2 separate regions of the Homo sapiens genome follow, and region 1 is linked to region 2. The links are contacts of gene promoters, found by promoter capture Hi-C in human tissues and cell types (Jung and others, 2019). All regions are on one chromosome and are shown on one strand. Each heading gives the region's core, a stretch centred on a gene start or on the middle of the fragment in contact. The rest is flanking DNA. Distances are from core to core; before and after follow the strand shown.

Region 1 (2,932 bases), core at 415-2,914, 520 kb after region 2:
TAGCTCCCTGTCCTGGTAAATCTCTCACCTGTCTCCCAGCTGCTGTGGTCTTGTGTGGTCTCCAGTGCTGACCGTCTGCATTAGCTGGAGTGGGGACAGGTACTCACTTCTGAAAGGATTACCTACCAGGTGGCAATGTTAGAACCCGGAGGATCCCCCAGAGAGCTCAGTCCAGTTCATACCCCAGTGCAAATCTAGAAGTGCAGCTTGTGGCTCTAGAAAGGGAAACTTTCAGCTCTCACTGTTGACTGTGGGAACTGTGCCCTCTATAAGCCGTTCCCAGGTTTTGGCTGAGCACCTCTTGGGCAGCTTATTTATCTTTCTGTTTAGAGCATGCAGAAATAGTGATCCCTTCATCTTAATCGAGTGCATGATTTCTTTAAAGCGCTGTCAAGCTGCTGAGAGATCTGGCCTGGGGAACAGTCTGCCTCCGTGGTACTGTCAGGATTGATGTCTGACCCACTGGTTCCAAACCCCGGCTACACATTACATTCACCTGGTAGCCTTTAGCACTGATGACGGGAATCCCCAACCCCCATTGGTATTTTAAAAATTCCTCTGGTAATCCTAGTGCCTATCAGGGCTGGAAACCACTGAAGCAGAGCCGTACTGCAGGGCCCAAGAGCATACAAAGCTAGTTATTTGGATCCAAAGTTGGTCAAGTGTGCAGTGTTTAGACATCATGATCTAGGCAAACAGAATTCCTGGCCTGAAATATGTCACTAGTTAGAAACATTAGAAGCTTTCAGGTAAATAAATATAAAAAACCAGTCAACCGTATTCTTATTTCTTCGTCAGAGAATCATGTGTCGTTTGGTTTAACTTCCTGCTGGATTCTGGATGGGAGTTGTTGAACATATTAATCTCATTATTTTCTGTAGAGGACAGGTTGTCCCCCCTTCCTCATTAGCGCCCTGACTGCTTGTTAGGGCTCTCTGCCTCTGGCCCTGTGACCAGCACGGTTGCTCCAGCAGGCAGCAGTGTGTGGGCCTGCTCTCCATGGCAGAGACAGGGCTGTGAAGCTTGGGTACTGCTCACATTTGGATAATGAAGATATTTTTCATTGTGTTCATTTTAAATGTGAACATTAGAAAAAACTCTGAGCATATAGTCAGAGGAATAGAAGAACTTGCTTGATCCTTCACATTAGTGGTATTTAGTGTTTTTATTTAAAGGCCTCTTAGAGTCTGTCCCTCTCTTGGCACAAAATTTAGCCAAATATTTTCTTTCAGAAGATTTACAGATCCTTGAATCCACTTCAGACTTAAAAGTGTATGAAGATGATCATAAAGAGTTAATGATGGCTAACAGCTGTGATGAAGCCATTAGACATGGCACCTATAGAAATGCACACGTTTTTTTACTACTCTACAACAGTGGGTAAGGAACAATGCATGAGGAAAAGTAGAGAAAACTGTGAGGGTAAATACGCATGACCTCACGTCGTGTTCTTTACATAAACTACTGAATTTCATCAGTCTGATTACAGTTTAGATTTTCTAATACCAACTTATGTTTTCTTTTAAAATTTTTTTATTTTTAGCTTAGAGACTATTCTGTTAATTACTTATTTTTTAGAGACAGGGTCTCGCTCTGTTGCCCAGGCTGGAATGCAGTGGCATAGCTCACCAACCTCAAACTCCTGGGCTCAGGTGACCCTCCTGCCTCAGCCTCCAGGCACATGCCACTGTACCCAGCTAATTTATTTTTTGTAGAGATGGGGTTTCACTTTGTTGCCCAGGCTGGTCTTGAGCTCTGGGCCTCCAGCAATCCTACCTCAGCCTCCCAAAGCAGTGGCATTACTGGTTGAGGGTAGTTGTCTAGCTCCTTGGTGTTTTGAACAAAGAATTGGACAAAATGCACAAAAAACCAAGGCAGTGAAAGCAGAGATTTATTTTAAATGAAAGTATGCTCCACAGGGTGGGAGCCGGCTGAAGCAAGAGGCTCAGGAACACTGGTTCTTCTGGGGTTTATATGCCTTCTAGAGGTTTCCCATTGGTTTCCCATTGGTTCACTCTAGTGGTCCACGACTAGTCTGATTGGTTGTAGGGGGGACCAATCAGAGTTACTTTCATTTTCCACACAGAAAAAGGAGGGGTTATATCTTATATCCAGTCAGGGTGGGTGGGCCTTAGGTTCCCTGCCTCCAGACCCTATTCTCCTGCCTCACTGGGGTTACAGGCATGAGTCACCATGCCTGGCCTATGTTTTCTTCTTCAGAATTCTTAAACCAAGCTTATTTTTTTCCAGATTTGGAAGAAAAGTTGAACTCAAGAACCACAATATATACAGTAATACACAACCAGGCCAGTGCAATTGGGAGCCCTCTAAAAATGTACCTGGCTGGGCACAGTGGCTCACACTTGTAATCCCTGCCCTTTGAGAGGCTGAGGCGGGTGGATTGCTTGAGCCCAGGAGTTCAAGACCAGCCTGGGCAACTCTGTGAGACACTGTCTCTGAAAAAAAAAAATTAGGCACAGTAGCGCATGCCTGAGGTCCCAGCTACTCGGGAAGCTGTGGTGGGAGGATCACTTGAGCCCAGGAGTTAAAGGTTGCAGGGAGCTGTGATTGAGTCACTGCACTCCAGCATGGGCAACAGAGTAAGACCCTGTCTCTAAAAAAAGAAAAATAAACACGTAACGTGCATAGAGCTACATGTGTGAGCCTTGCATTGTTCTAGGAGCTCATAGAGATAATTCCTCACTTCATTCAGTCATCTTACAGATTCCTTTCAAATGAAGGATAGTCTGTCTTAATTGTCATTTAGATGAATAACTGAATAAGGAGGTGCATTCATTCAAATCTTTTTTACTTTTTCTAAATAATCGCTTTGCTGACCAAGACACTTCAACTTTTTTGGGAAAGACATTCCAGTGCTATCATTTATGCGTTTTGAAGAGTGAGGAAGGGAAGTTATGATGTGTAGTAGGAA
Region 2 (2,700 bases), core at 116-2,615:
CTCCAGGTTAGCTCCTTGGGAGCGGGGACTTAGCTTAAAATCCTGCTGTGTATTTTCCGTTGTGTTTAGCCCTATGAGTAATCACATTCAATGCATACTTGTAAGGCATATTTGACTGAAGATATCTATCATAGTTATTCATTTAGTAAATGATATAATGAAAACTCAAGTGCTCGCCAAAGATAAATCATTACTATTAATTCCCTCATTCATCATACATGTATGGCAGCCTCAGGGGCTAGGGAACCTAGGATTGCTGCTTTGACTTTTTTTGGGGAAGCCAAATAAGCCTCAGATCTCTCCACTTTGGAGCCAGCCATGAAATTCAGATTTACCTAGGGCTCAACATTAAGGGTCTCAGACTAAATTTATCTTCAGGTACCCTTTCCAGAGTGGACCAGTTTACCTTATACCTCTGAGAATAACCCAAAACTTTCAAAACTCAAATCACAGGATATTATTTGTTCATGAATTCAGCAAGACTCTCTTGTTTAACTATTGAAACTCAAATATTTCGGCTTGCAGCAAGGAGGGGTACAGCTGTCTGGATATACCTTGGCCAAATTTCAGTGTATATAGAAAAGTGGGAGGTTATCGACTATGTTAAACCTTTTCCTTAAATTTTCAAACTTCGGGATTATTTTAGTCTCATAGATAAAATAACAAGGCAAGTATTTACAAACTTTTTTCAAAAATATGAGAATTTCAGTTTTCCCTAGGGCATTTGGCGTTGTGCTGTCACCACACTTTTGAAGATAGCTTTACAACCGTGGGAAAACTCACCGGGCTTTTTTCGTTGACCCCGCCATTTCTAAGTTGCTATATTGCTGCAAGGAGCTGGCAAAGCCATGCTCTTCCTCTCCCCCATTCTCCTCTTCCTTTCAAAGACCAAAGCGCCCCGTGAGAATATAGAAACAAGGCTGAGAGGCAGCGAAGAGTAAGGGAGGAGCCAGCACTTACGCATTTTTCACTCTCCTCCTCACTCCCTAGGGTCATAGTTTTGATTCTGAAGTTAGAAGTGTGGGGGTCGTCGGCTGCATTTTCAACTTGGCCTAAAAGTTGGAGTTCACCACACTGCAGGCGCTAGGAACTCTGCCGCTCGGTCACCAACCTGAGCCTCTGGCTAGTCCGAAGAACGCGAAAAGCCAGGCCCAAGGCACTGGTTGTCATGGCAACCGGGGCGCTGGTCTCCCTGGCGACCTCGTCCCTAGGGAGGAGGTGGAGCTGGATGCCAGGCGGGCCAATGAGGTCGAGGGGAGCTCGGGGTGGGAGATCTGCGGTCCTCCCAGTGCCGGGGAATGGTTGAGTGACAGGACCGGGGGGGCGGAGCCGGCGCGGCTGCCCGAGGTGGAGCCCCAGTGGTGCGAGTAGCTCCAGCGGCCACGCTGAGGCGAGGGTGACACACCATGCTCACGGCCCCTGGAGACCGTCGTGCTGGCGAGCCGTGCTCCGTAGCTCCCCGGTCCGCCTCGGCAGCGGTCAGAGTCGCCTACAGGAGTTGAGCCGCCCGCGCCAGAAGGTTTTGGCGAAGCTCTTGGAGAGGCGTCGAGCACAGTAGGGCGGCGGGGGTGCGTTGAGCGCTCGGGGGTCAGGCAGTCGGCCGGGATCGCCGCTGGGGAGCGTTTCCGAGGCGAGGAGGAGGAGGAGGAGATGCTGCTCCTCTTCTCCCCCTCCCCAGGCTCCTTCTACAGCTCCTTCAGCCCACGCCCGCAGCCGCTTGTGGGAGAAGTGGTGGTGGCTCTCGGCGCCCGCGGCGGCTGCCGGCGGCCCGCCCCGACGCCGCGTCCCTGCAGCCCTCGCCCGGCGCTCCAGTAGCAGGACCCGGTCTCGGGACCAGCCGGTAAGGACGAGAGCCGCCCTGGGCTCTGCGCTGCATGTGCAGAAGTGCAAAACAAAGTACATTGCGCTCGTTCTCTTCCTCCTCTCTCTGCTTTCGCTCCAGTCCCTAAACCCAACTCCTCGGTTGCCCTGGTAGAAGGAACTTTTCTTTGGTTTTGGTGGTGGGTGTTTTTGTACGTTAGAGTGGGGGTGGGGTGACTGGAGTGGGGAAGAATGAGATGAAACTCCATTGCTAATTAGGTAGATCCATCTCCTCTGCGGAAGAAAGCCGGATTCTCGGGAATGAAACCCACAGGGGGAGTAAGAGATTGTGGGGTAATAGGGAGTGACATTGCCCCGTCGTGCTTGCACAGCTCCGCTCTGTGCGTGCTTAAGGGAAGGGCTCCCGGAGTCTGTTTCTAATTTCTGCAAATGATTGTGGAGATGGTGTGGTTAGAGGCCGCCCAGAAGAATGTGTGTGTAAGGGCTCGAGAAGGGGGTGGGATGGCGGGGAAGCAGAGGAAGAGGGGGCAGAGGGAGAGACACTGTCTGATGCAAGGTCTTTTATTGCTTTTCTTCTGCTTGCTAAAGTTAACACTCTACCCTCCGGCCCCCTAGCCCCACCGCTTTGCTCATTACGTGATACTGTAAGAGCAGACAGCTGGGAAGCTAAAGTTAAACCAAAGTCAAGAAAATTCTTACAAAGTTTAATTTCCTTCTGTTGTGAATATAATGGAGAGAGGAGGATGGGGAGAAATATCACTAAGAGATTTACAGCAATACAGTTTTCATTGGCCATACACGTATATGATCGACACCACCGCACACTTCCAACTAATCTGTTCGACAGCCTTGTGTCATTTTCATTTAATTGCATCTTTG

The links. The method cuts DNA at HindIII sites, captures the fragments that hold promoters and counts their contacts. A contact is called where the count stands out against the background at its distance.
Region 1: a fragment that was not itself captured here is called in contact with the fragment with the promoter of PTPN13 in region 2 in 1 of the 25 tissues and cell types used here (hippocampus).

What each region holds. Positions count from the first base shown.
Region 1 is chr4:87,116,956-87,119,887 of GRCh38, forward strand. All of the region lies in intron 12 of AFF1 (ALF transcription elongation factor 1), which reads left to right. Among named protein-coding and RNA genes, the nearest start is that of KLHL8, 100 kb to the right of the region's middle. The HindIII fragment of the contact is 4,409 bases long and covers 1-2,932 here.
Region 2 is chr4:86,592,950-86,595,649 of GRCh38, forward strand. PTPN13 (protein tyrosine phosphatase non-receptor type 13) reads left to right here and starts at 1,366. Exons shown (of 48, transcript NM_080683.3): 1 at 1,366-1,840. It also overlaps a transcript of MAPK10 not described here. RefSeq lists an enhancer at 1,017-1,603. The HindIII fragment of the contact is 10,688 bases long and covers 1-2,700 here.